Regions from separate parts of the Homo sapiens genome. Here regions 1, 2, 3, 4, 5 and 7 are each linked to region 6. Evidence: promoter capture Hi-C in 16 types of primary human blood cells and fetal thymus (Javierre and others, 2016). All regions are on one chromosome and are shown on one strand. Each heading gives the region's core, a stretch centred on a gene start or on the middle of the fragment in contact. The rest is flanking DNA. Distances are from core to core; before and after follow the strand shown. Region 1 has its middle 150 kb from the start of ASAP1. Region 2 overlaps ASAP1 (ArfGAP with SH3 domain, ankyrin repeat and PH domain 1). Region 3 overlaps ASAP1 (ArfGAP with SH3 domain, ankyrin repeat and PH domain 1). Region 4 overlaps ASAP1 (ArfGAP with SH3 domain, ankyrin repeat and PH domain 1). Region 5 overlaps ASAP1 (ArfGAP with SH3 domain, ankyrin repeat and PH domain 1). Region 6 holds the start of ASAP1 (ArfGAP with SH3 domain, ankyrin repeat and PH domain 1). Region 7 has its middle 190 kb from the start of ASAP1.

Region 1 (3,052 bases), core at 332-2,831, 150 kb after region 6:
AGGTTATACCTGTTAGGTATACCTTTGCATTTCTACCGTCTTCCATGCTGCCAAAGATACAGAATGTGTAATGAAATAGATGATATGGTTTGGCTGTTTCCCCATCCAGATCTCTTCTTGAACTGTAGCTCCCATAATCCCTACATGCTGTGGGAGGGACCTGGTGGGAGGTAATTGAATCATGTGTGTGGATTTTTCCCCTGTGCTATTCTTGTGATAGTGAGTAAGTCCCAGGAGATCTGATGATTTTATAAAGGGCAGTTGCCCTGCACATGTTCTCTTGCCTGCTGCCATGTAAGACGTGCCTTAGCAACTTCTACACCTTCCATGATTGTGAAATCTCCCTAGCCACGTGGAACTGTGATTCCCTTAAACCTCTTTTTCTTTATAAATTACCCAGTCTTGGATATGTCCTTATAGCAACGTGAGAATGGACTAATACAATGAATATTTGCCAAGTAAATGTTTCTCCCACTGGGATGTGAGCTTCTTGGGATCCTGGATTTCCTAGAAATGCCTAGCCCTTCTCCCATTGCATGGGTGCCTAATGAAGTGCTCAGTGAATATTTTTTGCAGCTTTGAACAGAAATAGATTTGGGTGCATGAGAACCAGTTTTCCATGTCTGCCCCTTAACTCTGTGATTTTGGGCAAGTCCCCTTCTGTCCTGGAATTCAACATTCTCACCGGTACACTATGATGGCAACGACTCTGCAGAGTAGATACAAATGAGAGTCAGCTCCCCCGTGACTCTCCTCTGTGCCAGAGAGTGTCCCGTGTGTTGCAGGATTTTTATCTGATTAAAAACAATTCATTTGAGCAGATGTAATTTCCCCCTTTTACAGAGATTCTGAGAAGAACAACTTGCCCAAAATCACACAGAGAGAAAAGGATTGAGCCAGGATTTCAAATCATCTTACCTGAGTCCATAGTTTATGCTCTTTTCACTATCCTCCTGTCCTGCCTCTATGGAAGGATAAGATGATCTGAGATTATCTATCTATCTGTCTGTTTGTCTGTCTGTCTATCTATCTATCTATCTATCTATCTATCAATCATCTATATCTATCATCTATCTCTATCATCTATCTCTATCTATTTATCTATCTATCTATCTATCTATCTATCTATCTATCTATCTATCATCTATCTGTCTACCATCTATCTAGCTATTCTGTTCTATCTACCTACTGACTTACCTATCTATGCCAGCATAGTGCCTGACACATGGCAGATATGCAATAATTGTTCATTAGAGATGGTTTAAGTCTCATCTTGCTTGGAAGTAGGTTCTGAACAAGGCAGTCCTGCTGAATCCCATATAGTCCTGGGATCCCAATAGGTGGAAGCAAGAGGAGGTGAAGGTCATGGCAAGCTTGTTTCCTCTCAGCCCATTATGCTGCTCTTGTAATGTCATTTGCAAATTCCTGTAAGCACAAAGTAGCCACTTGGGGCAAATGCACCAAGGAGAAGGGTTATGTGCCTTTCCTCATGGCTAAACTTGACAATCATGGAGTCTCTCTTAGTCTCACAGAGGAGGAGAAGCACATTCACTGCTCACTTGCTCACTCATTTCCATAGTTATGGAATAGTTAATAATCACCACCATTTACAGAGAGCCGACTCTGTGTTAAGGGCTATGCTGAAGCTATCTTCACAACAGTCCTTCCATAGGCTGCAGCTACAGCAACAGAGACAGAGCTAGAGAGAGCTTCTTGGCTGGTAATTAGGAAACTAAACACAGAGAACTTTAATAACTGACTTGCTTAAAGTCACCTAGCTTGTTAGTGGTGAAGCTTAGATTTGGTCCTGGTTCTGTCTGCTTCAAAGCCATTTCACTTCACTATGAATATAGCATTAGATAGCACAGTCACTCATTGCCAAAAGATGTTGGGGAGTGGGGACATCAAAGACAGTCCTTTTCTTGCTGCCCAGAAAGCAGTGCCTTTCCCTTAAAGAAAAGGAAACTCACTAGACTCTCTGACCAAGTTTAGGGTGTAAAATTGAGGTGCTGACGAAAAGCCCATGGATCAATTAGAAGACCGCTAACAGTCTCTCTCTCTCTCTCTCTTTTTTTTTTTTTTTTTTTTTTTTTGGAGACACAGTCTTGCTCTGTCTCCTAGACTGGAGTGTGGTGGTGTGATCTCGGCTCACTGCAACCTCTGCCTCCAGGGTTCAAGTGATTCTGCTGCCCCTGCCTCAGCCTCCCGAGTAGCTGGGATTACAAGCATGCACCCTCATGCCTGGCTATTTTTTTTTTTTTTTGTAGAGGCGGGGTTTTGTCATATTGGCCAGGCTGGTCTCGAACTCCTGGCCTGAAGTAATCCACCCACCTTGGCCTCCCAAAGTACACGTGTGAGCCACTGCATCCAGCCTCTCAGAGTCTCTTTTAACCCTTGTATTTTCCTTGTCATTTCCCTATAAGAGTATAGTGGTGGAAAGAGTTTTGATCTAGAGTCAAAGCTTGGGGTTTGATTCTCAGCCATGCTGTCACAGGCCGTGTGGCTCTGGCTGGGTAGGAAATGTCATTGCTCTGAGCCTTGGTCTCCTCCTTGTCATAGGGATTAAATGAGGTAATTGATGAGAAGAACTTGGGCCTCACTGAATTGTCAATAATTGGTAGAAATCAGGTCACACAATCTATGCATGGGATTTTGGCATCAGCTGTTATAGACAGAGTTGTTTTTTGGGCTTTTTCCTACATCTAATTTCTTCCGTAAAAGAAAACCACAAGCAAAACACAAGCACAGAGGCAAAATAGGCTTCAACTCTCCCTACAGAAATGTTTCTGAGGGTTATTAGCTCAGCCATTTTCCATCAGCAAAAATAAATCGCTCAGAAACATCTGGGCCACATTTGTCAGGAATCTGCTCTGTGCCGGCATTTCATTTTCAAACCCAGAGGACATTTTGGACCTACTGCCATGCCCTTGAGAAAACAGAAGGGTTCCAGAGCCCACCAGGGCTCCCACTTCCCTATCTCTCTTTTTCATTTCTGAAAAGCTCAGAGGCAGCGGCAGCCAAACAACGTTTGGGTGGGATGGTGAAGAAAATC
Region 2 (3,392 bases), core at 109-2,608, 250 kb before region 6:
ACATAATGTTGGATCCATTTTGTGGCAAGTGGCATGACTTTGTTTTTTATGGCTGAATAATATTCCATTGTGTATATATACTGTATTTTCTTTATCTACTCAACTGTTGATGGACACTTAGGTTGATTCCGTATCTTGGCTACTGTGAATAGTGCTCCGATGAACATGAGAGTACGGGTTATCTTGTTGATACACTGATTTCTTTTCTTTTAGGTATATACCCAGCACTGGGATTCCTGGATCTTATGGTAGTTCTCTTTTTAGTTTTCTGAGGAGCCTCTATACCATTCTCCATAGTGGTTGTACTAATTTATATTACCACCAACAGCGTATGAGAGTTCCCCTTTCTCTGCATCCTTGCTAGCATCCATTACTGTTTTTTTTATAAAAGCCATTTTAGCTGGCTTGAGATGATATTTCACTGAAGTTTTGATTCGCATTCCTCTGATGATTAGTGATGTTGAGCATTTTTTAATAAACCTGTGGGCCATTTGTAGGTCTTCTTTTGAGAAATATATATTCAGATCTTTTGCCCAGTTTAAAACTGGATTTTTTTCCTATGAGTTATTTGAGATCCTTATATATTCTGGTTATTAGTCCCTTGTCAGATGGGTAATTTGCAAATATTTTCTCCTATTCTGTGGGTTGTCTCTTCACTTTGTTGATTGTTTCCTTTGTGGTGCAGAAGCTTTTTAACTTCATATGATCCCACTTGCGTTTGCTCATTTTTGCTTTGGTTGTCTGTGCTTTTGAGGTCTTTCTCAAGACATCTTTGCTGAGAGCAATGTGCTGGAGAGTTTCCCCCAAAGTTTTCTTCTGGTAGGTTCACAGTTTCAGGTCTTAGATTTAAGTCTTTAATCCATTTGGATTTGATTTTTGTATATGGTGAGAGATAGGGTCTAGTTTTATTCTTCTAAATATGGATATCCAATTTTCCCAGCACCATTTATTGAAGAGGATATTCTTTCCCCAATGTATGTTCTTGGTGCCTTTGTCAAAAATAAGTTGACTGTGAGCATGTGAATTTATCTCTGGGTTCTCTATTTGGTTCCACTGATTTATGCATTTATTTTTATTTTTATTTTTTGAGACAGAGTCTCACTCTGTCGCCCAGGCTGGAGTGCAGTGGCATGATCTCTGCTCACTGCAATCTCCACCTCTTAGGTTCAAGCGATTCTCCTGTCTCAGCCTCCTGAATAGCTGGGATCACAGGCATGCATCACTACGTCCGGCCAATTCTTGTATTTTTAGTAGAGATGGGGTTTCACCATATTAGTCATGCTGGTCTCAAACTCCTGACCTTGTGATCCACCCTCCTTGGCCTCCCAAAGTGCTGGGATTACAGACGTGAGCCACCGCACCTGGCCTATGCATCTGTTTTTATGCCAGCATCATGCTGGTTTGATTACTACAGCTTAGTAGTATAATTTGAAGTCAGGTAATGTGATGCCTCCAGCTTGTGTATTCTGTCTCCCTCACTAGTACATAACCTCGATGGGGACAGGGACTTTGACTTTTCTGTTCACAGCTATATCCTTAATGCCTAGATTCCATTAAAAAGATGAGATATTTAGGAAGTGCAATCTATAACCGGGAAATAGTTTTTTTTTTTTTTTCCACTGCTCTGCGGCAGTGGCCTGAGTCTCCTTGATTTTAAGATGGCACAAAGAGGAATCTACAAAGGAGAAGGAAATGGAGATGGAGATGCTACCCAGCTGCAGAGAAGAATGGCAGGAGGGAACCAAGGGAGGCAGAGTCAGGTGTGAAAGGAGTAACCAAAACAAGGACTGAGAAGAGTTTTTACCTACTTGTCTTCAAGGAGACCCCAAGTAATCTTGGTAAAATCAAGTTTTAGTAGGTGTGGAACCCAAGACTGCAGAGACCTGCAGGAGCAGATTATAGATGGAAAGGTTTGTGGGTCCCCTCACTCAAGAAATGATTTTACTCACACATAAGTGTATTCAACTGTCAGCCTGTCCATCCATCCATCATTAATAAGATATCTACTCTGTGCCACACACTACACTAGAAGCTTGATAGGCAAAGATGAATAAACACTGTTCCTACCTGTGGAGAGCTCATATTCTAGGAACAGAGGCAGTCACTACACAGCCAACTCTACTACATTATGCTATTATGTATTATGTGTTAGTGGCAGAGGGAGAGAGTGGTGTGAGAAGGACCAACGCTGACTTGAAAGGGCTTTGTGCATGACCCTCTTAACCACATCTGTAAAGTAGAATATTATAACCTACTGCAAGCAGCTGTTGTGAGGATGGAATGAATTAATATGTGTAAAAAGTGCTAGCTTACTCCCTGATACCTAGGAAGTGTTGAATACATGTTTATATTTTAAATGCTATGGCATGCTAAATATGGATAAGATAATGAGGGAGCAGAGAGGGGCGGGGAACAGGTTTTCCCCTTTTTGCTCTTAACTTCTTCCTAACCCTTTCCTGTTGTTTTCATCTTAGGCTTCTTGAAATTCTCAGTCATTCTACCTCTTTACTCTCCCTGAACAACAACTAATTTTACACACCGGAAGGTTTCCCAATGTGTGTCACCAGAGGGCTTCTCTGGTGACACACATCTAAGAAACAATCACTTCTTTCTTATTTCAAAGACAAAGGGATTTCTACCAAGACAATTCTGTCTGTGATTTTGCCAACAATCACACACCAACAGACTGGCTGGCATACCAGAGAGCTATAGTCTGAGAGTCTACATTCTGTGAGGCTCTAAGACACTGGTTCTTGGGGAGTGGGGCAAAAAATAAAAAACCAAAAAATCTTAGCTGTTATAACTGTCTGTGGCCCTCCAAAGGGCCACAGTATATAACTGATATCAACTATGTCTATTAGCTGTATTAAAATTTCACGGGGGGGAGCGATGGGGGACTATGTCTAAAAAGGCTCTTGGGGAAAAGGAGGAAGGCTTTGGATCATAATGAGGAAAAAAAAGGTTGAGCAACACTAACTGGGTCTGAGACTGAAAATATGAAGATTAATAGGACTCACCCTCTATTCTACACAGATAGCTGAAATAATTTGCTCTGAGTCCTCAATTTCATTCTTGGAGTACAATTCCCTAGCATCCTCCTATCCTATGGGCCTTAGAAGTTTGGATGGATGGTGGGTAAGTAAGGTTGGGGGGCCTGACCTGCCTTCACTAGCCAAGCCATTGCCTACTTTTCCTCTGTTCACGGAGATCCTTGCCTTATTTTTCTTCAAAGCACTTACCATCCCTACCCATTTGTATATATGTTTGTTTCCCTATTTGTTGCTGTCTCCCCAGCCTGGTTGCCAGTTTGAGAGAGGGGTCAATATGCTCACTGCTATATTCCCAGAACACTGCCTAGCACAGAGAGGGTGCTCAAAAAATACTTGCAGAAG
Region 3 (2,953 bases), core at 203-2,702, 210 kb before region 6:
TGTATACCTGTACCTGTGTTGTGTGAGAATGTATCTGCTCAAAAAGATTAACATTTTCAACCTAATTCATTTGGTAGAATAGCCAACTCAGTATACCCACGCTTATTATGAACCACATGCTTCCATTTCTAAAAGTGCAGTATGTCTCACTGTGTTTTTTAAACAATACTGAGAAGCAAGCAGTAAGCTCTTTTCTCAAGCCACACCTGACTTACGTGCATTCACATGCCCATGCTTCCAAGGGAAAGCCAGCCCCACTCCTACTGTACTGACCCAGGGTCTCTCACAAAGATCAAGATCAAGATGTCTGCCAGGGCTGCAGTCACCTGAAAGTTTGACTGGGGTTAGATTTGCTTCTACGTCTCACTTGCATGGCTAGTAAGTGAGTGGTAGTTCTCCATAGGACTGCTTGAGTATCCTCAATATGGTAGCTGGCTTCCTCCAAAGAAAATGATCAGAAAAAGAACAGAAGGACGAGGTTGAAGCTATCTTGTCTATGGACTGGCCTTGGAAATCACATGGCATCACCTCTACTACATTCTATTCATTAGAAGGGAGTTAGTAACTCTGGTGTACATTCAAGGGGAAAGGGGATTAGGCTCTATCTTTCTAAAGAAAATTGCCCAAGAATTACAATAAATTAAAACCTCCACAGTGCCCAAGAAACTACTAGTCATTTTAATCATATATTAGCAAAAGGGCGAAGGAGGGAGAAAATGGGAAAGGGAGAGGGACCACTAAGGCAGACTTCCTTAACGACAATGTGTTTCACAGATTAATAATGTTAAAACTTCAAAACTTAGAGAACAACACAGGAAAACTGAATGGCTTGGAGAATTTTCCATTGGTCTAAGTAGTTCACAGAATTGAGTTTTGTGTTGTTTTTTAAAATGTCCTCATACACAACAAGGAAAAGTGAGACACAAATTCCTAGAACAATCTTGAAACCAAAGGGCTTGCATGGAGACAATTTGTTTAAAAAAAAAAAACCAAAAAACCCTCATTTTTATAATGTTTACTAGTACTGATAAAAGTTTATGTGTAAAAATAATACATTTTAAGAGTAAGAAGCTTCACAATGTTTAGCCATTTTTCAAATCACTTTGGGAAGCTGAGTGATTGGTAATCTCCAACCAGAAATATAGAAATCCTTTTTAAATGTTTAAAAAATATCACATGGGTTTTGTATCACTTAAGCATTGTGAGAAAACAAGAAAATTATGAAAATGCATTGGGAAACAGATAGCAGGGTTCAGCTTCTTGTGGTTTCTCTGGATGAGGCCAAAAGCCCTTGGAGGGGAACAGCTTGGATTCCACTGAGCATGTATCATGGAAAGCTATGCAACACCACTGTTTTACTCATTTAGTCATTTTTAAAGAATTAAATGTCATAGTGCTGCCCACAAACCCAGCTATACTATACTTGTTCGTGACTGCAGAAACCCTATCAGGCCTCAATAGTCTGTGAGGAACCCAGAGGGATCTGAGTTTGTCCCTATATTTCTGAGACATGACCATGGAAACTACTATTGGTGGTCTCATCTGGGAAACACCAAAGTCATCCCACAGGTTACAATGCTGGGATTTTCCATTTGATGGATCCATTCATGAATATTCATGATTAGTGAATATTAATAGCTGGTCTCAGAGAGCTTCCCAGGTAGTAACACATCCAGCCAACATGTAGCGATTCACTCAACCCTTGTTGAGCCCCTACCATGTGTTAGGTAGAAGACAAATACAGAGTACCTGTAAAGAGCAAAGCTGGGGTCAGCTGGGCTCTCTTTCCATTATTTGCTAGGTATGGTACCCTGAACAAGTTATTCTGTCTCTCTAAGCTTCAGTTTCATCATCTATAAAATGAGAACAATGGTACTTACCTTATTGGCTTGTTTGGCTTAGCCTAGTACAGTATAAATACAAAATGAATATCATTTCCTCCAAGTGGTACTCCCTTAGCACCTTCCTCACGCTACCTCAGATCCTTCTTCCTATTTCACCCTTTGCACTTTGTAAGCTTTCTTTTATAGCGCTTCCTAGTTTCTAGTTATAAATACTTCCCAGTTTGATGATCTGATTAACATTTATCTCTCCCCTACTGGATTGTAAAATTCATGAAGGCAGAGACTTTGATGTGCCAAACACCTAACACCCAGAACAGGAGAATATAATAGGTGCTCAATAAATATCTTTTCAAACAAACAAATTACATTGACAAATGCATAAACTACAAAAACGAAAAACATAGTACTAGTCTTATCAAAAAACTCATAGGCCAGTGCAACAGTTCTTAATTTTGGCTGCAAGTTAGAATCAGCTGGGGAATAATATTTTTTTAATCTCAATAGCTAGGCTCTACTCTGGAACAATTCGAGGGTAAGGGTCTGAGAGATTCCTGTTTTTGTTTTTAAGAGTTCTTCAGGTGATCCTAATCAACAAAGGTAAGAATCATTATCTACTCCAAGAGAGATGGTTAGTAATTGCAATACAATGGGATACATGTTCTCCTACAGTATCAGTCTAACAGGACTTCCTGTGATGATGGAGAAGTTTCTATTTCTGCACTATCCAATATGGCACCCACTAGTCATATACGGCTGTTAAGTTCTTGAAATGTGGCTAAAACTGAGGAACTGAATTTTAAATTTTATTTTAATTCATTTAAAATTTAAAACCATATCTCACCAGAGGCTACTCTAATAGTACAAACCTAGGAGGAGGGCACACAGAACCCCTAATCCAGACTGGAGAGATTCAATGTTCAATAAGCTGTACCACCCCCATCCACAAAGAGGGTGCAGTCTACTGGAGGAGGCTGCACCCAAACTCTGCATACAGCCCTTGAACTCTCACCTCTTTACATCCATACAGGAACAATCTCTCCCTTCTGTCATACCCATGGCAGCTGTGATCAAGGAAATCCTTTAAAGAACAGGAAGAAGCATATCCCCCA
Region 4 (3,462 bases), core at 258-2,757, 130 kb before region 6:
AAGGAGGCTTTATTTGTTAGGCTCAGCAAGGGCTCCCACAGTGGGGAGGACAGCCATTCTATGAGAACGCAGTCCAGGGCAGGTTGTCAGAAATGTGTGCAAAAGGAACAAATTGCAGGCCTGGAAAATGAAGCACATTTGCTGTTCTGACTACAAGTGACAAGTGCAATGCACCAAAATGCCATCTGTAGTTATCTGAGTGGTGGAATCATGGGTCATTTTAAAATTCTCTTCTCTGTATTTTGCTCAATTTTCAAGTTTTCCCCAATGGCCATATTTTATAAAACTAAGAAAAGGTATCCAAATAGGTGGTAATTTTGAAAAGTAGAGAAATTTACGTCTAAAATAACAATAGCCTATGCTGTCTCATAGAGACAATCTCTACTGGCATTGTATTCTATCTTTTCCTAGTCTTTTTTCAGTGCACATGCATCTTTTTCACTCGTTAAGCCAGTACTTAAAAAGGGCAAAATAGGGTCCAGTGTGGTGGCTCACGCCTGTAATCCCAGCACTTTGGGAGGCCAAGGCGGGAGGATCACCTGAGGTTGGAAGTTCGAGACAAGCCTGACCAGCATGGAGAAACCCTGTCTCTACTAAAAATACAAAATTAGCTGGGCATGGTGGCACATGCCTGTAATCCCAGCTACTCGGGAGGCTGAGGCAAGAGAATCGCTTGAACCCGGGAGGCGGAGGTTGCAGTGAACCGAGATCGCGCCACTGCACTCCAGCCTGGGCAACAAGAGCGAAACTCCGTCTCAAAAAAAAAAAAAAGGCAAAATAAGTGATATAGGTTACTTATAATTATAGAAAGCAAAGATTTTAGGCTAAATAATAATAGTATGTCAAGCTAGATGGTTAAAAATCTACTTTTAAGTAAACAAAAACAACTCAAAAAAAAATAGTAATTTGAATACGATCCATAATGATTTATTAATTGTACTCCTTCTAAATGAGAAGATCCGAATTCAGCCTAGAACATGTAGGTGCAAATATACTCTTGTTCACCTCATTAAATTCTAAATGAACACCAACCACTGTAAATATGTGGATCACTTGAGCCCAGGAGTTCAAAACCAGCCTGGATAACATAGCAAGACCCAGTCTCTCCAAAAAAAATACAAAAATTAGCTGGGTGTGGTGGTGTGCTCCTGTAGTCTCATCTATCAAGAAACTGAGGTGGGAGAATCACTTGAGCCTGGGAGGTCGACGCTGTAGTGAGCTGTGATCACGCCACTGCCCTCCAGCCTGGGTGACAGAGTAGGACCCTGTCTTTAAAAAAAAAAAAAAAAAGTACCATGCCTAAAAGAGCTGGCTACCATCCACCATCCCTGCAGCTGAACCCCTGGCCTTGAGCACTGATGGCACCTTTGAAAGGGAGCTTGAACACAAACCAGACGAGAGCTAAATCTAACACACTTAAGCAAAATACAATATCACTAAAAGGAGGGGAAAAAAAACCCATTAGGAATTCTGGTTTTAAAAAAAATACTGCAACCCGTAGCAACTCCAGGGGGCCTTCTCTCCCTTTTGATAGTGAATGTCCTCTGCATTAGGGACATTTCCAGGCCCAAGGCATACACAGGCATTATCTCACTGAACCAACCATTACAGGTGGGTACTATTATAATTTCTATTTATAGGTAAGGAAAACAAGGCTAAAGGAAATTAAATCAAGATAGCACAACTTTTATGTTCCAATGTGGGGATCTGAACTGATCTTTCTGATTCTAAAGCCCATGTTCAACCACTGTAGTAACAAAGCCTAGCACAGAAATTTTCCCCCCTAGAAATAGTTGCTTAGCTTGTTCTACCATTTAGTCATACCCTAGCATTCTGGATTTGGTTTTGCCAATGTGATTTTCAACCAAACAAGATGAGGGAATAAGCACGTGAGAAAGACATCAAATGAAGGCCAAAAGGTGTCCCCTCATCTACAACTGATCCAATGACAGCAGAGTGACAGCTCATTAAATTAAAAAATGACTTGGCAAATGAAAGCAATCATAGCATGCACATACCTGTTCATGAAAGAACACAAGTGAACTGTTGGGTTTTTAATACTTTAGGTTTTCATGGAAGAATCATAAGTACATTTTCACATAACCAAGTGCTTATGTTCTCCTAGTTTAGTTTCTGAGAACAAATGGAAGGAGGTGGTGGATGGGCTGAACAATGGGGCAAATGAAATATACTGATAAGCAAAAATCCCTAAAGCCTGCAGATAATTTCTAAGCAATTCTGGTGGGTCCCTAAAATAAAACATATCCTCTGCCTTCAACAAAATAAAATAACATAACCGTTTAAAAAAAAAAAAAACTTTTAAAAGGTCCACTTCTTTTCCTCATCTTTGCAGCTCTCACTCTCAATGAGATCACGTATAAATTGAGTCCTCCTTCCAAATCTCTTACCTTAGAAAGGAAACTGCTATTTTGCTGTGCAATAATAGGTCAGAGAAGAAAACTGTTTTAAATAATGCCTTCATGCAAATTTACTGTAGGGTTATCTGCCGAGTAACAGACTACCCTTGTGGGATTCTCAAATTACAGTTATATTGCCCAACTAGGGGAGCTGCAGTTTGAAAATGAGAAACTTCTTTTGGCAGTGGAACACATAATCAACGTCCTCACAGAAAAGCAGACGTTTCAGCTACAGAAAATAAAAAATAAAATTAAATTAACTTCACTGCCTAAAACCATCAGCCCCAGGATATTCAAAAATCTTATGAATTTTTATCTCAGACATGATCCACATTCTGCATGAACTAAAAAACTCATGACTTTATACTATCAGTTCTGATATTTTAACAGTCTTTACTGGGGGAAAGGGAATGAATCCCCCAGTGTAAAGCAGCAGCCTGTCTGCAGTCAATGCCACTGCACTCGACACCACGTCCCATGCTCTTCTCCTCTCCCCACTTCAGCTCAGCCCTGCAGACTGCTGGCTTCCCTCACACACAATTTGCTGCAGTCCACCCCTAGGCTGGCAAGCAGCCCACCAATCACTCAGTGTGACAGGAAGTCAATCTGAATATAGAAGTACTGCATGTAAATGGACATTATAAATGAAAGTCTAGAATGCGTCACCTTCAATTTGGTCAGAAAAGGCCATTTTTAAGAAAACAATCATGCAAGGCTCTCACTTGGGGTCAAAAAGGTAAGCTTCCTCCCCCCACTTACACCCCACATATTAATTCTACTGGAGGGGCAACAACTTTCATACTGTGACATCCCTGACTTTATTTTTTAACCTTCATACCACTTTTTATGATGCTCTCAAAACATATTGAAATGATGAGGAGGAGGAAGAAAAGGGTGGAACATTTGTTAAGCACCAGCTGTATTGCTAGGCATGGCACTGAGCTCCTTTTATACAGCAGTTTATTTAATCTTGAAACATTACAAAGTGGGTATCATCATGCCCATGTTACAGATGAGAGGGAACTGAGGTTTGCAGAGGTAACAA
Region 5 (3,282 bases), core at 147-2,646, 150 kb before region 6:
GAGGCCATCCCAAAGCGCTTTCAAACTGTGCTCTAGTCCGACTCCTGCATCCATGCTGCGTGGAACTCTTCTCCCCTGGCAGGAGCTCCAGCTACACGCATCAAGCAATCAGTGCTAGGTGCTCCTGCTAATTAATGCAAATATGGGAAGCTTATCTCCTCAGCCATGCTGGAAGCTGCTTGAGGCTTTTCATCTGTGGCTTTTTTCTGATAAAGCTGAGGCTTTTAATCTATTTCTAACCTTTCTGGTTCCAGTATTTGACTTCGAGGGCACCATTCCTCAATTTGGGTCCCCAGAACTCACTCCTTAGGGTAATTCCATTCTTTTACAAGAGCTGATATTAAAAAAAAAAAAAATTCCTTGTTGAAACAACTGTTAATAAAGAGGATATCTTTGAGAATATAAACCTCCCTGCAAATGCTTATCAGGACATGTTTTATTTGGAGGCGCAGTGTCCTACCTGCAGCTGTGCATTTACAGAGCACTGCCAGCTCTTACACATTAACTCTAAGAGGGAAAAGGGCATTCAGAAGTCTGGACTGCATATCCATTAAACAAATGTGTTAATCACCTTCAAGACCCTAAGCAGGGCAGTGTAGAGGACCCAGAGACAAATGTGAAGGAGACTCTGTCCTCCAAGAATTTAAAATGTACTAGGCAAGGGCACTATGGGAAGAAGATGGCATCTGTACTATGGTAAAACCACTGTGGAAGCACAGGTAATCTGCCCCAGTAATCTGGTCAATGCAAGATGTTCACAGCAGCATTACTTATAGAAGGAAAGAAGGGAGGGAAGGACAAATAACAATGTCCAATGATGGGAGATGGTTAAGCAAATTATGATAAATTCACAGAATGAAACTGTGTATAACCATTAAAAATTATACTTACCAAGGCTGGGCGCGGTGGCTCATGCTTGTAATCCCAGCACTTTGGGAGGCCAAGGCAGGTGGATCACGAGGTCGGGAGACCGAGACCACCCTGGCTAACACAGTGAAACCTTGTCTCTACTAAAAATACAAAAAATTAGCTGGGCGTGGTGGCACACGCCTGTAGTCCCAGGTACTCGGGAAGCTGAGGCAGGAGAATCACTTGAACCCGGGAGGCATAGGTTGCAGTGAGCCAAGTTGGTGCCACGGCACTCCAGCCTGGGCGACAGAGCAAGACTCCATCTCAAAACAAAAAACAAAAACAAACAAAAAAAAAAACTATACTTACCAAGACTATGTAAATAACATGGGAAAATGGGTATGTTATAATGAATAAGAAGGCGTCAGACTAACACTATTAAACAAAAACATGCACAGAAAAAGCATCAGTGTGTTCACAGTAAGAATGTGGCCATTTTTTCCTTCTTCCTATGTTTTGTATTTTCCAAAGTATGTGTGTTACTTTTACATGAGAATATTCTTTAAAATTTATTTTTAAACAGCGTATTCAAAGGGCACAAGAATATCATATATTCAAATTTTAGAGAATACCCCAAATCCTTAGGGAGGCAGCTACCTTGCAGACTGGTCCAAACTTTAAGAATGGAAAAGACTGGGGAGGCGAAGACTGGAAGGCTTCATACTTTAAAATGATGGCCCTAAGTCAGCTGTTTATAACTTAGCACATACCATTCTCGAAGAAAGGATGTTATAAAGAGTGGTTATATTCCCAGGGTAGCCCATACAGCCAGGTAAACTCTCAAATCACCTGAAGTATCTTACTTGTATCCACAATCCTTTAGCTGGGGCTGGCTGTTTTAGAATTCATACTTTTGTAGATTTCAGAAAGAAATTACAGTATACTTATTGTTTATTATACAACATACCCCACAGGGACTAGTGTAGAACTCCATTATCAGATTCTGGTAACACAGTTTTTAAATATCCAGTACGTTTCTAGTTTAGCTTCTAAAAGCCTCATGAAACAAAATTTCATGTCAAAACTCTTAACATTTGGAATTCAGAACAGCAAATAACAGTGGACCTATAATTGCACGTACCCCATTGTACATGGTCATTTATCTAAGCGCTCTTCCTGGTACTCGACAGTTGGCAACGGCCCGAGAGGTGTCATATTCATCTTTGTATCTCCAATACTAGCACAGCAATAGCAACATAAAAGGGTGGTCCATAAATATCTGCAGAATGAATAAATGAAATATAATACTGAATCTATTTGCCAGCCACTTCATACTCCTCACAGCCCTCTGCACTTCTCTTAAGGCTCGCATATTCTACTTTGGATTAGATGTCATATAACTGTGCTACTCCGCCTCCTCACATTCCTTCCAACTTTAAGTCCTTCAAGGGCAGGGATGGTTCAGGTGAAACAGCAAGGCCTACAACAGTAGCCCATATTCCCTCACATGAAATGTTCAGAACTCGTTAAGCAAAGACACCAGATTCTAACTTGGGATGCCCAGAATACTTTCTCTAACCCTTACCTAGAGATCCAAGATTCCTCTTTTCTAACTGTAGGATCCAAACCTTCCTGGAAAGAGGAGTGACCCTGAACCAGGGCTATTATGGTGCCTGAGTCTAGCCTAGTCGACATGGGGATGTGTGCCTGATTTCATAAAGAACCCCTTAAATCCTTCCAGCCTTCCCTCATTCCAGTGGTGGTCATTCTTCTCAGGCTGCAGTCACATTTATAAAGCTTTTCAAAATGCCAAACCACCTCTACCAATTGCAAATCACTTGCTGAACTTTATCTGTGGACTATTTCCTTGCAGATGCTCTGAGGCATGACAAATCCTTAACAGGATAATGATGATACTCCTCCTTCCTCTCCTCATGCCTGGTACTACAGGATCAATTTTAGTACCGTATCACACAGACTTTCCCCTCCTTGCTTTGATATGCTTTAAAGCCACTGAGATGTGGCTTGGGTTAAAGGGAGTAAGGATTTTAAGGGTTCATGCATTCAATGTGCCATTCCAATGAAGACCTTCACAAGTAGGAGCTACTCCTCTTCTAAAACCAAATAATGCTTTACAGGCTAAGGAACAGAAAAGACGAGTTGCCAAGTTATACCATTTCAGGAATCCAGTTATCTTGACTTTTCCCCTGAGGCTTGCCTCTGCTGCAGCTAAAAATGAATCTGCTCAGATTCTTGTATATATTCACATACCCCTCCAGCCAAAAAATGAAGAAAACTGGTATGTAAATGGAAACATTACAGAACACTCTTAGAATGTGAATGTCAAATTCTCCTAGTGTCGAAAAATCTCAGAGATAAAACCAGGTTTGACACCCAAAGAAAAATGCTGGAGCCAGAAATAGACACTTGCTA
Region 6 (3,083 bases), core at 160-2,659:
GGACTGAGCCTGAAGAAGTGGAAACTACTCCTGGCCATGTGATCTTGGGCAAGTCAGGTCACCTTTCTGGGCCTTCTCTGAAGGGGGTGAATCAGTTGTTCTCAAAGATCTTTTTCTTTCCAAACTGTTCACTGGGTGTTTCCAGAAGACCCGCATTTTCTTAAAGCTATCTGGCCGCGCTACAATTGCAAAACAGAAAGGCTTTGGGATGAAGGTTGCAATACAGATAACCCTGGCCTAAAAACTGATAAGCTTTTACAATCCCAAAACATTACTCAGCAATCCAGGTCCTGATGTCATCCCAGAATCAATCACGCCAAGATAACCTAACAGAGTAGACAGGGGAAAATGCGAGAGAAAGTTCTTTTGCTTTCCTGACGAGTACAGGTAAAGTTGAGGTCAAGTTAACGATGATGGTCTGCAGTTGACCATCCTTCTCCCTGAGCTACTGGAAAACCACATTATTAAAGGAAACTGCTTTAGAAGTGCCCAAGATGAACCTCTTGGGATGTATCAAACCGCAGAAAACCGGACACCGGCAAGTTTCTTTTTTCTTTGAAACTTCATGTCGCTCTCAGAAAACGCAGCAGGTCCCAAAATGGTACAAGCAGAAAACACAAGCCACTTCACGGTCCGCCCAGGAGCCAACCCCAAGCTCCAAGTAGGACTCCCCCCACCCCCTTCCCTTTCGTTTCTCTTCTTTTGCTTTAGGCAAGTGGCCTGGGGCCTGCCAAGCAGCGCCGGGTCCGGGTAGGGGCCGGGGGCCGCGGGGAACTTTCCTCGGCTGCACCAGAGACAATGCCGGGAGGGCGCCCCATCGGCGGGGTCCGGGCCGCCAAGCACGTCGTCCCGGGCCCTCCCCCGGAGGGGGACGCGAAACCCCCCAGGGCGGGCCCCGTCCCCGGCCCCACTGCAGGGGCCCCCTCTCCCGAGCTGGAGGCGAGGAGACCTCCCCCCCCCACCGGGCGGCCTCGCCCGGCCCCGCAGAGCCTGGCCGCGCGTCCCGCACACGCCCCAGCCCAGGGCCGGCGCCCTCCCCGCGGAGAAGGACACCCCGCTGCGAGAGGAGCCGGGAGCCCGCCCCGCGCCCCGTCCCGGCGCCCTTCTTCGCGCGAGAGACTGGGCAGGGGGCGCCCGCGACTGTGGGCGACTCCGCCCGGCCCCGCCGAGCGCGCCCGAGCGCCCCGCAACTCACCGGGACCTGGCGGGCCGCTGGGCATTATTCCATCGCGGGTTCGGCCGGGCGCTCGCGGCTCTCGGGTGGGAAAGCGAACTGCGACCGGGAAGCGCCGGCTGGGCGGGAGGCGCGGGCCCGGGGCTGCCCAGCGCACAGTGCTCGCCCGCGGCAGCGGCCAGGCCAGGCGAGGCGCGGGAGCCGAGCGCGGCGCAGGAAGGGGCGGGCGACCATGTGCCGAGGGGGAGGAGGCCGCGGCGACGCGAGCGGCTCGCACGATCCCGCTCGGCGGCGGAGGGCGCGGGTTTCAGGAAATCCAAACACTTCGACAGGAAATCGGAATCCTGACTAAGCATTCCCGGCCCCGAGCCGCTCCGCGCCGGGGGCTCCCGCCTCGCTTAACCCTTGGCCCGCCGGCAGCCACGAGGGGGGCGTGGGAGGGGCCCCAGACCTCGGCCGGGGTCGGGCGTCCTTCGCCTTCCGCCCCATGCCCCGGCCGGCCGGCCTCCTCCCCGCCTGAGGTGGAAGGGGTGGGATTTATCCACAGAAAACCCTGGACGCGGAAGGTGCCTTTCTAAGGCCGGGACAGCGGCAAAGGACGTGCCTGTCTTCCATCTGCAGAGGATGGACCTGCACTGTCCTGGCCGTTACCCCTATTTTCAGTAAAGGAATGATTTCACCAGGCTGCCCCCTTTCACCACTTCCTCTCTGCTCTTATAATTTTATTTTTGCCCAGTGCCAAGGGAACAGGACCTTCCCAGTCAGGATAGTATAGGAACAGTATGGAGAGTAATTGTGTGGGCTGCAGGCTCTGTGTCCGGTTGGAATATGGCCTTTTTTCTACTCATGTTACCTTGAGTAACTCGCTCAACTTTCCTGAGCCTCAGTTTCCATTTATGAAATGGATGTTAATTCCACCCTCATAGGTTTGATCTGGAAGCTGAATGTTTAGACAGGGACTGGCACATTGGAAACGCCCAAATAAATGATAGCCATGCTTGTCCTTATTATTACCATTAAAAGACATCAGAGAAAGGAGGATTTTAATTTGTGGGATGTATATTGTGCATATCTATGTCTACTTTCAAAGTCAGAGACAGTAGTCTTTCTTTAGAACTTAATTTCCCTCCTAATCATTGGGTGATTGTTTTTCTTTGCAGCATTTCAGAAACGGCTCTCTGCAGAGGAAATGGTTAGTGGCTGTGGCAGACCCCCTTCTGGTGAAATCCGAAACAGAAAACCTCACAAAATTTGGGATTTTGCTCCTAATCTGAGAGTCTGGGTGTAGTGGGGAGTGGGGGTTGTTAAACAGTCTGGAGCGGATTTACAAAGTTTGGGAAAACCAAAATCAATCTCTGACTGGGCAGAGAGGTCGGGCAGCCAATGAGTGATTCATTGTGGTTTCCCACGGAAATGCCACATTTCGGGGGTGTCTACCTGGAGGATGCAGCTTGGTGGTTTTGCTGTAAGTGTTTCAGATTCCTTTGAAACCCAATCAGACTTTGAAGAGGGAACAACATGCTCATGAGCGAAAACAGAAGCCTGAAATGAACCTGCTGGGAACTGAAAGTTGGGTACCAGCTCGTTTACTCCAAGTAAGGAACAGATACCAGTTTTAGACCCAGCATTGTTCCTTTTCTGCAATTCTCTCTCCGTGGCCAGAAGCAGTAGGACAGCTCTGAGCTGGGCACCAGGAGTCCCAGGGTCCTGCTCCAGGCCCACTGTAGCTGCCGTCCCCTCTGCCTGGAAGAACCCTTGTATGGCTGTTCTTGGCACGCAGCTCACAGCCCAGAAGTCAGCTCCGCAGATAGGTTTTCCCCAACCATGTGATCTGCTTGTCTCTGGCACCTACACCCCACCTCCACCTCTCCCAAACATAGCGCATCCTGTTTGATTGCTTCATAGCCCT
Region 7 (3,381 bases), core at 577-3,076, 190 kb after region 6:
GGAACTACTTGGGTGTGATCTATGCTGTCCTGAAAGTTCCCCTGTGGAATTGAGCCCAAGTTCTTCTCTGTGATACTTGACTTAATACTGAGGGACATGGTTTGGCTGTGTCCCCACCCAAATCTCATCTGGAATTGTAGATCCCATAATTTCCACGTGTTGTGGGAGAGACCTGGTGGGAGATAATTGAATCGTGGGAGTGGTTCCCCCATACTGTTCTTGTGGTTGTGAATAAGTCTCATGAGATCGGATGGTTTTATAAGGGGAAACCCCTTTTGCTTGGCTCTCATTCTCTCTTGTCTGCTGCCATGTAAGACATCCCTTGCTCTTCTGCCATGATTGTGAGGCCCCCCCAGCCACGTGGAACTGTGTGTCCATTAAGCCTCTTTTCCTTTCCTTTTCTTTCTTTTTTTTTTTTTCTTGAGACAGGGTCTCGCTCTGTTACCCATGCTGGAGTGTAGTGGTGTGATCTTGGCTCACTGCAACCTCTGTCTCCTGGGTTCAAGCAATTCTTCTACTTCAGCCTCCCGAGTAGCTGGGATTATAGGAGCCCACCACCACGCCCAGCTAATTTTTGCATTTTAAGTAGAGATGGGGTTTCACCACATTGGCAAGGCTGGTCTTGAACTCCTGACCTCAGGCAATCTGCCCGCCTTGGCCTCCCAAAGTGCTGGGATTACAGGCATGAGCCACCACACCCAGACGCCTCTTTTTCTTTATAAATTACCCAGTCTTGCGTATGTCTTTGTGAGCTGCGTGAAAACAGAGTAATACACTGAGCTTTTGCTTGGGTTCCTTCTCTTCCTTTACCACATTTCCAACTCTCTATTTGTTTTCCTTGGAAATTATTCCTAATAAATTACTTCACATGCATTTTTTTTTCAGTCAGAATCGGCTTCTGAGGAATCCAATCTATGAAAACACTTTACAAAACAATTAGAAACCTGGTCCCCCCCGAAACTGATTGTTATTTCTCTACCAAGAGCATTAAACCAAGTGGGCCTTCAGTAGACCTTATAAGATTTGTACGACTGACCTGGCACATCTATAAATGCTGCTAAAGTTATTGGGAATACTCTTTTCTGTCTTCACCTTCCACTGTCATGTTCTCAGATTCATCTTTCCTGACCATCACGTCTAAAATAGGCTCCAATTTCTTCTTTATTCTCCACTTTGACATTTTGTGAGTTTCCTTCAGGGTACTTGTTAGTTGTCCGTATTTGGCATGTGTATTTGTTTCTTCCTTTGATTTTGCCTATCTTCACCACTGAACTCTAAGTCTCATTTGGTCAGGGACCTGTCTTATTTCCTGCTGTGTAACCTGTACCCTACCCAGTGCTCAGTGACAGTTCATTGAATGAATGGAAAACACCTGTGACTCACCCACCCCCACCACATTCTGTCCTCTAAGACTGACCTTTGCTGAGGTTGCAGATGTGGTTTTGCATGTCCAGAACCTATAAGAGATTCATACAGGTTTGACAGACAGAAATTTCAGAAAATCCACCTGGCACAAATAAGGAAAATAGATGAAGCACATGTATTTATGGGGATTGTTTAGCCTGAGACACACCATCCTGCAAACAGATTGTGCTTGACAAGTCTTCATGAAAGGTGTGGGAGCTCTGAAGTCAAAGTGTTGTGGGTATTGATTTGATTCTTGGAAAACGTAAACCTTCTTTTCCCCTTGAGCCCTTCTGCATGACTGTGCTGGTGTCTATAAATCTGATTGTCCTGAGGCAACAATTAGGCCAGAAGGGAGAGTTTTTTGTGTGTTGTACATTAACCTTTCGGGGCAGTTAAGACTTCTTCAAAGTAGTGAAGACAAGATGAGTTCTGAAATATTCAACTTATTAGAGGAGATAGAGTAGAATTTTTCAAAGGAGGTCCCACTGAATACAATTACCACACTATGTTATTAGCCTTCCACAGAAACAAAAGTGTATGTGGGTGGCAAAATATATTTGGAAATATTCTTTAATATGTTAATATATTCTGGGTGTGGCCATGAAACTTACGTGACCATAGAATTTTTTTTGGACTATCACATGGGAAATACTGTAGTAGAGACTGTCTGAAACTGCTATTTCATCATTGGTCTTCATGTCTCTGTGTCCCCATGCTTCTGACTTAAAGCAAATCCTCATCTTCTTCCAGGCAGAATATATCAAAGGCCCCCTCCACCATTCTCTGCTTTGCATCTTATATTCTTTCCAAAGTCAGAGCATCTGTCAGTCTGTAAACAGTCTGTCAACTTTCTCAACTATTGCTTCATAACAAATAATCGCAAAATTTAATGGCTTAAAACAGCAACAATCATTTATTTAGCTCATGCATCTACAATTTGGACAGGGCTTAGCAGGGAAGGTTCATCTCTATTTCAGGCAGCTTCCACTAGGGCTGCTAGACTGAGACTGGAGGATCCACTTCCAAGATGGTGCATTCATGTAGCTGGCATTTGGAGCTGGCCGGTGGCTGAGATCTCAGCTGGGGCTGTCAGTTGGAAAAGCTGTACATGCATGGCCTCTTCATATGGTTTCTTGGCTTCTTCTCAGCATGCTAAATGGGTACCAAGTGTGAGTATTTCAAAGATACAGGGAGTGGACTGGGCTTTGGAACAACTCAGTTTTACTTCCATGGTATTCTGATGCTCAAGCAGCCACAGAACTCAGATTTCAGGGCAGATGACATAAACTCCACTTCTCACAGATAGAAAGTGTGACAAAGAATTTTGGCGCCATGTTTTAAAATGGCTATAGCAGCTCTGTGAATCTCTTCTTAACGTTTCTTCTGCCTATAGTGTTCCTTCATTCCCACCCCCACTTTGTCACCTGGAAAACTAGATTCTCCAAGGCCTAGATCCAAGATCACTTCCTCTAAAAATATTGTTGTCTGTGTTTTGTTAGCATGTTGTTTTTATTGCTAGTCTCACATCAAATTAACATATCATTTTAATGTTGGTTGTCTTCTTAGAGGGCAGTATGACATCTTATTCATCCATTATTCCAGTTCCTAGCACAAGGCTTGTACTGAATTAATTAATTGACTAATTTTTCAGACCAGCTGTTATAGCAACTACTGTTTCATAAATATTTACTATTTAATAGACCCTGAAATATATGCTTTATAAATATTACCATATTAAATCTTCACAAATAGGAAGCTATTATTACTCCCATTACACAAAGAAGAAAACTAAGATCATAGTATATTTTCTAATGCTGTATAGTCTCTAAATGGCAGAACTAGAATTCAAACCCAAATCTAAAGTCCATGTTCACAAAAACCTAAAGTCCATGTTCATAACCAATATGTTCTTATTTGAATAGCAAATTAGTTAAAACAGCCAGTTATATTTATCCAACATTGAAATAACCAAAC

Evidence for each region. The method cuts DNA at HindIII sites, captures the fragments that hold promoters and counts their contacts. A CHiCAGO score of 5 or more calls a contact.
Region 1: a contact is called between a fragment that was not itself captured here and the fragment with the promoter of ASAP1 in region 6, in 2 of 17 cell types (endothelial precursors and M1 macrophages). The highest score is 8.5, in endothelial precursors.
Region 2: a contact is called between a fragment that was not itself captured here and the fragment with the promoter of ASAP1 in region 6, in 9 of 17 cell types (activated CD4 T cells, M0 macrophages, non-activated CD4 T cells and 6 more). The highest score is 9.8, in activated CD4 T cells.
Region 3: a contact is called between a fragment that was not itself captured here and the fragment with the promoter of ASAP1 in region 6, in 9 of 17 cell types (activated CD4 T cells, naive CD4 T cells, non-activated CD4 T cells and 6 more). The highest score is 14.3, in activated CD4 T cells.
Region 4: a fragment that was not itself captured here is called in contact with the fragment with the promoter of ASAP1 in region 6 in 2 of 17 cell types (activated CD4 T cells and total CD8 T cells); the score reaches 6.9 in activated CD4 T cells.
Region 5: a fragment that was not itself captured here is called in contact with the fragment with the promoter of ASAP1 in region 6 in 2 of 17 cell types (activated CD4 T cells and M2 macrophages); the score reaches 5.8 in activated CD4 T cells.
Region 7: a fragment that was not itself captured here is called in contact with the fragment with the promoter of ASAP1 in region 6 in 2 of 17 cell types (M1 macrophages and M2 macrophages); the score reaches 6.9 in M1 macrophages.

Annotation. Positions count from the first base shown.
Region 1 is chr8:130,593,051-130,596,102 of GRCh38, forward strand. No RefSeq gene overlaps it. Among named protein-coding and RNA genes, the nearest start is that of ASAP1, 150 kb to the left of the region's middle. The HindIII fragment of the contact is 421 bases long and covers 1,372-1,792 here.
Region 2 is chr8:130,189,449-130,192,840 of GRCh38, forward strand. The region is part of intron 5 of ASAP1 (ArfGAP with SH3 domain, ankyrin repeat and PH domain 1); the gene reads right to left. Among named protein-coding and RNA genes, the nearest start is that of ASAP1-IT1, 110 kb to the right of the region's middle. The HindIII fragment of the contact is 1,344 bases long and covers 687-2,030 here.
Region 3 is chr8:130,231,647-130,234,599 of GRCh38, forward strand. All of the region lies in intron 4 of ASAP1 (ArfGAP with SH3 domain, ankyrin repeat and PH domain 1), which reads right to left. Among named protein-coding and RNA genes, the nearest start is that of ASAP1-IT1, 63 kb to the right of the region's middle. The HindIII fragment of the contact is 767 bases long and covers 1,070-1,836 here.
Region 4 is chr8:130,311,005-130,314,466 of GRCh38, forward strand. All of the region lies in intron 3 of ASAP1 (ArfGAP with SH3 domain, ankyrin repeat and PH domain 1), which reads right to left. Among named protein-coding and RNA genes, the nearest start is that of ASAP1-IT1, 16 kb to the left of the region's middle. RefSeq lists an enhancer at 1-282. The HindIII fragment of the contact is 3,297 bases long and covers 1-3,156 here.
Region 5 is chr8:130,288,011-130,291,292 of GRCh38, forward strand. All of the region lies in intron 3 of ASAP1 (ArfGAP with SH3 domain, ankyrin repeat and PH domain 1), which reads right to left. Among named protein-coding and RNA genes, the nearest start is that of ASAP1-IT1, 6.9 kb to the right of the region's middle. The HindIII fragment of the contact is 2,496 bases long and covers 149-2,644 here.
Region 6 is chr8:130,442,265-130,445,347 of GRCh38, forward strand. ASAP1 (ArfGAP with SH3 domain, ankyrin repeat and PH domain 1) reads right to left here and starts at 1,410. Exons shown (of 30, transcript NM_018482.4): 1 at 1,196-1,410. RefSeq lists silencers at 965-1,044, 1,095-1,254, 1,265-1,354, 1,395-1,494. The HindIII fragment of the contact is 9,673 bases long and covers 251-3,083 here.
Region 7 is chr8:130,627,738-130,631,118 of GRCh38, forward strand. No RefSeq gene overlaps it. Among named protein-coding and RNA genes, the nearest start is that of ASAP1, 190 kb to the left of the region's middle. The HindIII fragment of the contact is 9,665 bases long and covers 1-3,381 here.